4 separate regions of the Homo sapiens genome follow, and all the other regions are linked to region 2. The links are contacts of gene promoters, found by promoter capture Hi-C in human tissues and cell types (Jung and others, 2019). All regions are on one chromosome and are shown on one strand. Each heading gives the region's core, a stretch centred on a gene start or on the middle of the fragment in contact. The rest is flanking DNA. Distances are from core to core; before and after follow the strand shown.

Region 1 (2,955 bases), core at 254-2,753, 51 kb after region 2:
GAAAATATGTATGAGAGAGATCATTGATGAAGCATGGCACAGAGCAAGAATGGAAGAGATGGGATCTGAGGTGTCAGGAACCTGGCTTTAAATAAGGTGGTGGTTTGAACTTGGAGGGAAGAAGGATGAAAGGAAGAAGGATGGGTAAAGCCTACTAAGATTTAGAGCTAGAGAAGAGGGAAAATAGGTGATGATTAAAAATCTGTCAGTTAAGCAAGGACCGAAGACCTTCTACCAATATTGAAGGAGATAGAGTTAGGATTGGGGAACCAAAATTGGAGGTTTATCACAGCCAATTTGGGAAATTCTAATAGTAAACCCAAGAGGCTTGCAATTTTAAATAGAGTTGTCAGGGAGGCCTCACTAAAATGATGATATTTGTACCCAGATCTGAAGTTGGTAAGGGAGTAAGGGATGTGGATATCTGCTTAACAGCACCCCAAGCAAGAGGAATAGCCTGTGCAAAGGCCCTGAGGTAGGAGACCACCCAATATGTTAAAAGAACAGCAGTGTGTGAGAAGATGAGGTCACAGAATTAATAAGGGGAGGAGAGACAGTGACTCCTATGACCCATGATTACATAAGATGTTGTACAACATTGTAAAGAATTTATTTTTATGTTAAGTAAAATAGGAATTCATTCAAGGGTAGAATGGAGAGTGATATTATCTGACATGTTTTTTAAAAATCCTGGCTGCAGAAAATAGGCTGAAAGGAGGCAAGTAAGAAACCAGGAAGACCAACTACCAGGCTACTGTAATAATCCAGGCTAGAAATTAGAGTGACTTAGACCAGAAATGTAGCTCTGAAAATGGTTTAAATTGTTTTTAATGTTGAGTTTTCAATATAGTTTTTAAAGAAAGAACAAATAGGTTGCTGATGGATTAAATATGGAGTGTGAGAAAGCACTCAAAAAATGACTCCCCATGTTTTTTAGCAAGAGCAGCCAGGTCATAACGTTACCCATAACGGCATGACCGTGTGGGGAGAGGGTGAGGGCGGGGCAGATCAGGAGCTAATGAGTGTGAGTTAGCTGTTAGTATTGTAGCTTCTCTTATGATCACCTTCTCTTATCCTAGAAATTATCTTTTTTTCATTGAGTGGCATTGGCTTTATTGAGATTATAAATTAGGTATTTTTTTATATTTGGAAAGATCTTCACAACTTCAGCTTCTCTGAAGCAGCAGTTTCTGCTGGTTGAGAAGTATGAGAAAACTATAATTTCAAAATAATGCAGGGACAAACCCTACACTGGAAATGAGCTTTCTGGTTAGAAAATATTTTCTTTATCCCATGGAATTCACTACTTCTTGTCCAGATTAATTCTTTTTAGTGTTTCTTATTTTGCAATTTACTTTTTCAGAATAAGTGGATTTACAGCATAATCTAGGTTTGCTGCACAAACAGCACACTGCACAACTTTGTTTATGTTGTGGCTTCTTGCTCCCTAGAGTGGCTCGGTGCAGCTACCCTGAGAGCAGTGTGAACTTCGAAAGTAATAACTGGTCATTGCAGAGAATGTGGAAAATGCAGAAACATAAAGAAAAAATAAACATGTTAAAATATGTCAGTGAATTCTCTTCCAGCCTTATTTTCTATACATAATACCGTAAACAAATTTAGTATTCTACTCTTTTCATTGAAAATATTCTAAGGATTTTTTTATGGTTTCAGTTATTTTTCATGAACTTTCATGGTGATCCGTAATATGGATAATACCTCTTATGTGTTTAATAATTGCATCATTATTGGATATTTATGTTCTTTTAAATAAAATATATTAAAAATAATGCTATTTCAATCTTTTATTTAAATTTTCAATCCTTTATTTAAATCTTTGACCACATGAAAATGCGATATTGCATCAAATGGTATCTGTGTTTAAAAACTTTTGAAATATGCGTACTGCTCAGTTGCTTTCTGTGAAAGTTGTACCTGTTTATATTCTCAGCCACATTGTTTAAGACTGCTTGTCAGCCGGCTGCAGTGGCTCACGCCTGTAATCCCAACACTTTGGGAGGCTGAGGCGGGCGGATCACCTGAGGTCAGGAGTTTGAGACCAGCCTGGCTAACACGGTGAAACCGTCTCTACTAAAAATACAAAAATTAGCTGGGCATGGGAGCAGGCGCCTGTAATCCCAGCTACTCAGGAGGCTGAGGCAGGGGAATCGCTTGAACCCAGGAGGCGGAGGTTGCAGTGAGCCGAGGTCGCATCACCGCACTCCAGCCTGGGCAACAGAGCAAAATTCCGTCAAAAAAAAAAAAAGAAGAAAGAGAGAGAGAGAGAGGTAGGGAGGGAGAGAGAGAGAGAAAGAAAGAAAGGGAAAGAAGGGAGGGAGGGAGGGAGGGAGGGAGGGAGGGAAGGAAGGAAGGAAGGAAGGAAGGAAGGAAGGAAGGAAGGAAGGAAGGAAGGAAGGAAGAAAGGAAGGAAGGAAGGAAGAAAGGAAAGAAAGAAAGAAAGAGAGAAGAGACTGCTTGTAGGATTATCTGTATTTTTTGACTGCTTGTAGGATTAACTGTATTTTTTGACTGCTTGTAGGATTATGTGTGTGTGTTTGAGACGGAATTTTGCTCTGTCACCCAGGCTGGAGTGCAGTGGCGCGATCTGGGCTCACTGCGACCCTCCGCCTCCCGGGTTCAAGCGATTCTCCTGTCTTAGCCTCCCGAGTAGTTGGGATTACAGGTGTGTGCCACTACGCCCGGCTAATCTTTTGCATTTTTAGTAGAGACGGGGTTTCACCATGTTGGCCAGGCTGGTCGCGAACTCCTGACCTCAGGTGATCTGCCTGCCTCAGCCTCCCAAAGTAGGATTACAGGCATGAGCCCCTGCGCCCGGCCGATTATGTGTATTTCTAATTCCCTTTCTTCTGGCCACACTAAGCAATTGCATCAATTTAGAAACGTGAATTCAAAATGTTCTTATCAATATTTTCTTAAGTATTGTAAAATATTTTA
Region 2 (2,811 bases), core at 83-2,582:
TTTTCATTTAATCAGGAAGGAAAAAACTACTTGGCAGTGTAGAGCGACCTAATTAACTAAATAACTGCCAATTCTACATTGTACTTTGTGTTACATGACATATCATGAATAAATACCAGTCAAAAATCAAATTATTTGGATACTTAAATGATGATGAGGCCTGCTGTGCCAACAGGTATGCTAATGAGTAGACATCTCCCAGCCTCAAGACTGAGTGAATGAGGCAAATATTTTCACCTCCCAATCTTTTAGGGTGTTCAATTAACTCAAGTATTTAAGAAGTTCCCTACTATTGGGAAGGAAGTAGATGTAATCATCTATATGCTTATTTTGTCAACTGAGTTGGAAAAACTTGCAAAGGAACAGTTTGGATATATGTATTAGATTTTTATCAAAATACAAATAAATGGTCATAGATGACAATTTTCACCTAAGGAATACAAGTAAGTTTATCTATGTTCAGTTACCAATCGCCTCTAACTAAAGTTAACAATGTCTTCCTTCTAAAACCTTTCTAAAGAGCACCCTGCAATCACACCTTCTAGCAACAGCCATTTCTCTTGAATTAGTAAGGTGGCTACACCGCCAATTTGAGCTGTTCTCCTTCAGTCCTGTAGTCCATCGCCAGGGGAGTCTCCAAATGCTAATAAAAATCAATTTCCCAGACAAAAGAACATATACACGTTTTTTTCTTTCTTTCTTTCTTTTTTTTTTTTTTTTAGAAGAGGGTCAGGGAGCATCTGACGGACGTTTTTAAAGGAAGGGGACAGCTACTTCCATGGGACTGCATTTTAGTTGTGCTAAAAGTGATGAAAGTGGGTTTGCATTATTCTACCACCAACACCCAAACCACCTGCCCACGGAAACCCCCGCCGGAGACCGAAGTTTACCCAAATAGCGCTCGGCAAAGCGCTGCCATAAATTCAAAACTAACTCTGCCGGGCCCGCGGGGGTTGCGAGACAGGGACCGAACGTGAAACCCGGGGAGCCCCGCGTCTCTTGCCTCCGAAGGTTTTCCGTGATCAGTGTCCCCTTCTCTGCTGGAGTCGGAAGTGCCTGTCACCTGCGGATCTGCCCGACTCTCCCGGTCGGCCCTTCTTCTCTGCCCAGTTCGGACAGTCTCGAATTCCCCGTCGCAGCCCCGGCCACCTCGGACTCCCTGGTCCCCAGCCCCCGCCCCACCCCCCGCCTCCACCACGTCCCCTCCCCGCGGTCCCAGCCTCTCCAGGCGCTGCTGGGCTCTGATTGGCGGCTGCGCTGACAGCAGGCGGGGCCTGGAAGTCGCGGCCAAGCCCGCCCTCGCGTATAAGCCCCTCTCAGCGCTCTCTCTCCATCTCTCCCCTCTCTTTCTCTCTCGCTGCTCCCTTCCTCCCTGTAACTGAACAGTGAAAATTCACATTGTGGATCCGCTAACAGGCACAGATGTCATGTGAAAACGCACATGCTCTGCCATCCACACCGCCTTTCTTTCTTTTCTTTCTGTTTCCTTTTTTCCCCCTTGTTCCTTCTCCCTCTTCTTTGTAACTAACAAAACCACCACCAACTCCTCCTCCTGCTGCTGCCCTTCCTCCTCCTCCTCAGTCCAAGTGATCACAAAAGAAATCTTCTGAGCCGGAGGCGGTGGCATTTTTTAAAAAGCAAGCACATTGGAGAGAAAGAAAAAGAAAAACAAAACCAAAACAAAACCCAGGCACCAGACAGCCAGAACATTTTTTTTTCACCCTTCCTGAAAACAAACAAACAAACAAACAATCATCAAAACAGTCACCACCAACATCAAAACTGTTAACATAGCGGCGGCGGCGGCAAACGTCACCCTGCAGCCACGGCGTCCGCCTAAAGGGATGGTTTTCTCGGCAGAGCAGCTCTTCGCCGACCACCTTCTTCACTCGTGCTGAGCGGGATTTTTGGGCTCTCCGGGGTTCGGGCTGGGAGCAGCTTCATGACTACGCGGAGCGGGAGAGCGGCCACACCATGCGAGGTAAGCGAGTCTGCGGGCACCGAGGCTCCCCGAGTCCGGCCAACTCCAGCCAGACGGGGAGATGGGGGAGGGGAGGGCACCCAGCAGAAAGGGAAAGAGGTTGCCCAGGCGCAGTTCCCCGAATTCGCTCTCGCAGGTGGGGCTGCAAATGGCCTGGGCGTAGAAAGTTGCGGGAAGGTGTTGATGTCTTTCGGGAGTTCTGGAGGGACGCGGGAGGGCGCTTTTTTGGAGAGGGGAGACAGGCTAGTTGGTTCTTACCAGTCCTTGAGTTGCACTGAATCTTTTTTGCTTGTCGCTCTCGGGTGCGGAAGCGGACGCGGGATGGAGAAAGCCGAAAGAGGGATGCCTCTGGACAGGAGCAGTTTGGAAGCGCCCGGCGCGCAGTGGTCGCCGGCCGGGTTTGGGCGCGCGGGGCGCACCGGCCGGGGGCAGGGTGGACACGCGCGGGCACACACTCGCCAGGTTACGAGGCCCACTAAGCGTCCTGGCCAGCAGGCATGTCCCTTCGCTGGAGTAGCAAGCAGAAGAGCAGTGCTGCGAGGCTGGACGCGGCTGAGGAAACAGTTAGTTCCCCGGCACGCGGCTGAGGAAACAGTTCTGCGGCGCGCGCCTTCGTGCCGGCGCTGCGCCCTGGCCAGGTCCTCGTGCCCGAGCCCGCGCGGCCCAGGGAGTAGTGCGACCCCGGAAAAGTTGTAATGAGAAAGTTCTGGAGGCTTGGAAAGGCCACACTGCTCACAGTCGGAGAGTCATGGGCTCCGGCTCTTTTGTCAGATAAAGGGCCGGTAGTGGAAGGAGGTGCTGGTGCACCCTCGGGCCAGGACCCTCGCAGT
Region 3 (3,040 bases), core at 150-2,649, 56 kb before region 2:
GAACAGGCCTGGTGTGGTGGCTCACGCCTGTAATCCCAGCACTTTGGGAAGCCGGGAGGGAAGATTGCTTGAGGCTGAGTTCAAGACCAACATGGCCAACATTTCAAGACCCAGCCTCTATTAAAAAAGAAAAAAAACACACATATGAACAATTACAAAACACAAACATGAAGAAAGTCTTAACAAAGTTCAAAGAATAAATATTATACAGGTCACATTTTCTTTCTTCTTTCTTTCCTTTTTATTTATTTATTTTTTAATAATTTCAACTTTTATTTTAGATTCAGGGGGTGCATGTGCAGGTTTGTTGCCTGGGTATATTGTTTGATGCTGAGGTTTGGGATATAACTGATCCCATCAACCAGGTACTGGGCATTGTACCCAATAGTTTCAACCTTTTCCACTTCCCCTGTAAGTCCCCAGTGTCTACTGCTGTAATCTCAATGTCCATGAATACCCATTGTTTAGTTCCCACTTATAAGTGAGAACATGTGGTATTTGGTTTTCTGTTCTTGCATTAACTTACTTAGGATACTAGCCTCAAGCTGCATCCATGTTGCTATAAAGAACATGATTTCACTCTTTTTATAGCTGCATAATATTCCATGGAGTATACGTACCACATTTTCTTTATTGATTTCATGTCTTTGCTGTCAAATGACATGTTTTCTTAATTTCCATTTCAAGACAATTGAAATAGAATTTTCAGATAAAATACAGGACATCTAATTAAATATGAATTCCAGATAAATAAATAAATTTTTAGTAAAAGCATGTTCCCTACAATATTTGATACATGCTTAAATTTAAAAATTATTTGTTGTTTATCTGAAATTCAAATTTCACTGGGCATCCTGTATTTTTATTTTCTAAATCTGGCAATCCTATAAATATAAATCATCAATAAAGATACAGAAAACCAAAGCAAAACAAAACCTAGACTATGCTTTTCTAAAAAATATACTCCAAATGTACTCTCTGCATATTAGATCAAAAGAAAATTAAGAAGAAAAGTATCTGAATGAAAAGGGAATGGCAAGGACAAAAGACCCACCCTTCCAGATATTCAAACCATTATAAGGCTTTGGTTTTTAAACATGGTAGTATTGCTGCAGAAATAGATACAGAAGGCAGTGAAGCAGAATTGACACACGCATCCTTATATGAAAATTGGGCATTTGACAGAGGTGATATTACAAGCCCAAGGCTGACAAATGAGTTTTTAATAAGACTCATTGTAACAGTTTATTTTCAAAATGGAAAATAAAGTTACGTTACCTCTCAACATGAAATTTCTTTTTATAAATATTGAAAACAAATTAAAAACTTAAAGCTTTAGAAGAATATATAGAATATCTATTTGAGGTCAAGTTAGGAAAGGATTGTCTTATAGAGAGCACAAAAGAGTACATGAAAAAATATTAATAGCATTGTCTCATTGTCTCTGCATCTTCAAAAAAATGTCTATGGAAAACGAAAAGACTAGCTACAAACTGAGCAAAGGTACTTTCATTACATATGATCAACAAGGGATAATTAGTAGCAAGTATATGTAAAGAACTCATACAAATAAGCAAGAGAAAAGCAAATAACTCGATAGAAAAATGGGCATATGATATCAAGAAATAATTTATAGGAAAGGGACAATTTGAACTTCCAGTAACTGAAAAGATGTTCAACCACACTAATAATTGGATAGATGAATTATATCACCTAAAAGATAGGCAAAAGAAATAAAAATAAAAATATGTAAATGACAAGTATTGTCTGATTTCAAAAGTAACTCTGCCCTTTATTAGTTATATCACTATGGCAAGTTATTTAATCTGTCTATGTCAGTTTCTCATCAGTAAAATGAGAACATTAAAGCAACTTTGTCACAGAATTGTAAAGAGAATTAAATGAGTTTGTGTTTTCAAAATTCTGAGAACAGAACGTGCCCATTTTTAAGCATTATATAACTTTTTGCCAGATGAAAGAAATATTGGCAAGGATGTAGGAAAGTGGGAGCTCTCCATGCCTGTGAGTAGAGGTGTATTTTGGAACCCCTACATCGGAAGGCATCTTGATAATGTCTAGTTGAAGTTGAAATGTGTATAATTCTAATTTTAACAAGCAGAATACATTCCTAAAACAGCTATGATTTTCCTTGAAAACAGTGTTGAGTCAATAAAGCAAGTTGCAGAATTATGCATATTGTCTAATATCAATTACATTGTTTAAAAACAAAATAGTGTAGTATAGTATTATGAGCACACAAATACACAGCAAAATATAAAGCACAGTCAAGAAGGACACATGCCGACTTCATGACAGTGGTTACTTGATGGAGAAAGCAGTTTGCATTGGGGATAAGTTGAGCAAAATTTAAAGATAATATGGCAAAAGTTGGCATTTGCTAGTTCTAGGTGCAAAGGATTTTGTTACGTTTCTTTTTCTGGTGTTCTCTGCTTTTGAAATATGTGTCATTGAAGATACATGAATTTTTCAACAGGGATTTAAGGAAACTGGTACATAAAAATCTATATTTCATATATTAACAATAAAGATTATTATATTTTATAAAACATAATTATAGAGCATGTAAAATTTTAGTCATTTTGAATGTAAAAATGAATAAAATAGTCCTAATTGAAAGTTTCTTGATTATTGAAATATTTACAACCAAATAATGATAATATTACTATTAGAAATAGTAATGATATGTATTCTAACTAGTTATCTTTTTGAAGCAATTCCGTCGAGGTGGGGGAGGAAAACAGCAAGTATCACAGGTGGTATATCTAAGTTTTAGATTATATTATTAATACAGAAATAAGCTTAAATAGTCTTTAAAATATGGAGTTGTTTGCAGGTTCTTTAAATTATTCATCTGAATGGCCAATTGACTAAGTAGAAACTCTGACAGCAGGTGATTCAAACTTGAAGTCACTGACACACACTTGAAACATACATATTTTGTCCAGTAATTGGAAGAAGACCTGCATGCTGTAGATCTCAGGTATGTCAATGGCAAATAGATTTTTTTTTGTTTTAAAAG
Region 4 (2,885 bases), core at 354-2,853, 39 kb before region 2:
TGAGTTTAGCAAGTTTCCAGGATAAAAGGCCATTATCAAAAATCAATTGTATTCCAATATAACAACCAAAGAATGTGAAATAATATGTTGTAATTAAACCAGTTACAGTAGCATCAAAAATATTAAATATCAGAGAATAAATCTAACAAATGTGGATACTTCTCGCAAACCATAAAGTACCATTAAGAAAATCTAAACACAAATTGAACAGGGAAATACATCATGTTCATGATTAGAAAATAATATTGTAAATATGTCAGTTCTCACCAAATTGGACTATAAATTCAATTCAATCACAATCAAAATCTCAGGAGGGTTTGTGCATGTATGTGGAAATTGACAAATGAATCCTAAGATTTCTTTGTAAATATAAGAAGCTAAAACCAGGTAAGTCAAAATTGGAAAAGAAGAAAAAAAGAGTAAGTATTTTTGTACCAGACTTTGACTTACTTTTGAAGATACAGTAATAGAGACCATGTGGAATTTGTCCAAGGGTAGCTAAATTAATAATGAAATAGAAAATATAGTCCAGAAACAGATCCACACATACATGAACTCTTGAATTATGATAAAAGTGGTACTGAAGAGTGACAGAAAAGTACAGTCTTTTCTCTCTTTTTGTGGGGGCGGGGGGCGGGGGATGGAGTCTTGTTTTGTCACGCAGGCTGGAGTGCAGTAGCGCAGTGTCGGCTCCCTGCAACCTCTGCCTCGTGGGTTCAAGCAATTCTCTTGCCTCAGCCTCCCAAGTAGCTGGGATTACAGAAGCGTGCCACCATGCTCAGCTAATTTTTGTATTTTTAGTACAGGCAGGGTTTCACCATGTTGGCCAGGCTGGTCTTGAACTCCTGACCTCTTGATCTGCCCCCCTCAGCCTCCCAAAGTGCTGGGGTTACAGGCGTGAGCCACCGCGCCTGGCTGAAAAGTACAGTCTTTTCAATAAATGGTGCTGAGTCAGTGAGATAGACGTATGGGGAAAAAAAGAAACTTGACCCCAACTTCTGACTATATGCAAAAATCAATTTCAAGTGAATAGTAGAATTAAAAGTAAAAGATAAACAATAAAGCATCTAGAAGATAATAGCTTCATGATCTTGATATGAGCAAAGGTTCTTTTAAAATGACACAATAATCCCTATATTTAAAGAAAAACATGTTAAATCGGACCCTATTAAGACAATGAACTTCTGGTTATCAAAAGTAACAAAAAAGTAAATAGGCAATAAGAGAAGATATTTGCAGCACACATACCCAAGAAAACGTTTGTATCCACAATATATAAAGAACTACAAATCATTCAGTAATAGACAAACAGCCAAAAGGGAGGAAAGAAAGACATGAAGAAGCACTTTACAAAAAGAAAGAAAAAAAACCCTCTTATTATATAAAAATGGTCTGTAAACATTTGTAAGGGTGCTTAACTTTATTAGTTATAGGGAAATGCAAATTAAAGCCACAAAAAGATGAAGTACACAGCCACCAAAGAACTAAAGTTAAGAAGACTGACAATGCCACATGCTATTGAGGAGCAGCACTGGGAACTATCATAAAAGGATGATAGTGATTAAATTGATACAGTCACTCAGAAAAATTGTTTGGCAATATATGTAAAGGTTAAACTTAACATACCATGACTAGCAATAACACTCCTAAATATATGCCAATGTTAAATAAAACAAGCAGGAGGCCATCAGCCTGACGCTGTCTCTTTAATTTGAGTTCCTACACTAAAAAGCACAACGTAATTTAGTAGCATTTTTTTGTAAGAAATAGCCAGGTTTCAGCCAATCACAAACAGCTGAGCCTCAGTCAATCACAGGCAGCCAACTAATCAGACTGTGCCTAAATAAGACAAATGCCTCATCACAGCGTGCCTAAGAAGCAAATGCTTAGCTAGTCCATCAGGTGATTTCTCTACTTTGCTTCCCTGCTCAGCCTATAAAAGCTTACTGCTCATGCTGCTGGGCAGAACTCTGATCCTCTTCTGGTTCTGAGTGCTGCCCAATCATGAATCATTCTTTGCCCAAATAAACGCTATTAAATTTAATTTCTCTAAAGTTTTTCTTTTAACAGTTTGGCATTACAGCACGAAGTGACTGAGCAAAGCTACCCACTGAAACCACTGGGCGCATTGCTTTCTTGCCTAAATTGGAAGTCAAGGATGAGTTTCCTCTCAGATCAAAGGTCTGCAAATCTGCATTTTGAGCTCCAGACTTTATTTGAACAATTCTTTTACAGAACAGAATTTGCAATTGGATTCAATCTAATAAATAACTAGGTTCCTCCTCCTTGAAAGTAGGTTTCTCCAAATCTGAAGAGTCTGGTGCTTCAGAAGTCTGGGACTCTTTTTTCTGGGACACTGACAACTTTTATGTACAATAAAGATGATTTCAGAAACCATGTATTTTGGGGGAAATGGTTAGCCTTACTATGGAAGACTTAGAATTACGGTGGCCACAATGAGGAAGCTTTAACTTGAGAGGCGCTTTAAAAAAGAAAGGATGCAGCAGGGCCCGGTGGCTCACGCCTGTAATCCCAGCACTTTGGGAGGCCGAGGCGGGTGGATCACGAGGTCAGGAGATCGAGACCACCCTGGCTAACACAGTGAAACCCCGTCTCTAGTAAAAATACAAAAAATTAGCCCAGCGTGGTGGTGGGCACCTGCAGTCCCAGCTACTTGGGAGGCTGAGGCAGGAGAATGACGTGAACCCGGGAGGCGGAGCTTGCAGTGAGCCAAGATCATGCCACTGCACTCCAGCCTGGGCAACAGAGCGAGACTCCATCTCAAAAAATAATAATAAATAAAAAATAAAAAAATAAAATAAATTAAAAAAGAAAGGATGCAGGACACCTCTAATAGAATGGAATGTATTTTTGACTGTCATGCA

What was found. Contacts are between HindIII fragments. The study calls those that stand out against the background at their distance.
Region 1: a fragment that was not itself captured here is called in contact with the fragment with the promoter of RORB in region 2 in 1 of the 25 tissues and cell types used here (dorsolateral prefrontal cortex).
Region 3: a contact is called between a fragment that was not itself captured here and the fragment with the promoter of RORB in region 2, in 3 of the 25 tissues and cell types used here (adrenal gland, aorta and mesenchymal stem cells).
Region 4: a fragment that was not itself captured here is called in contact with the fragment with the promoter of RORB in region 2 in 5 of the 25 tissues and cell types used here (aorta, dorsolateral prefrontal cortex, lymphoblastoid cells and 2 more).

What each region holds. Positions count from the first base shown.
Region 1 is chr9:74,547,189-74,550,143 of GRCh38, forward strand. All of the region lies in intron 1 of RORB (RAR related orphan receptor B), which reads left to right. Among named protein-coding and RNA genes, the nearest start is that of RORB-AS1, 50 kb to the left of the region's middle. The HindIII fragment of the contact is 5,181 bases long and covers 1-2,955 here.
Region 2 is chr9:74,496,003-74,498,813 of GRCh38, forward strand. RORB (RAR related orphan receptor B) reads left to right here and starts at 1,333. Exons shown (of 10, transcript NM_006914.4): 1 at 1,333-1,981. The coding sequence starts at 1,975. It overlaps RORB-AS1 (RORB antisense RNA 1), which reads right to left and starts at 2,551. Exons shown (of 5, transcript NR_125791.1): 1 at 2,240-2,551. RefSeq lists silencers at 969-1,181, 1,177-1,366, 1,271-1,565. The HindIII fragment of the contact is 7,823 bases long and covers 1-2,811 here.
Region 3 is chr9:74,440,284-74,443,323 of GRCh38, forward strand. No RefSeq gene overlaps it. Among named protein-coding and RNA genes, the nearest start is that of RORB, 56 kb to the right of the region's middle. The HindIII fragment of the contact is 3,059 bases long and covers 1-2,929 here.
Region 4 is chr9:74,457,187-74,460,071 of GRCh38, forward strand. No RefSeq gene overlaps it. Among named protein-coding and RNA genes, the nearest start is that of RORB, 39 kb to the right of the region's middle. The HindIII fragment of the contact is 4,336 bases long and covers 1-2,885 here.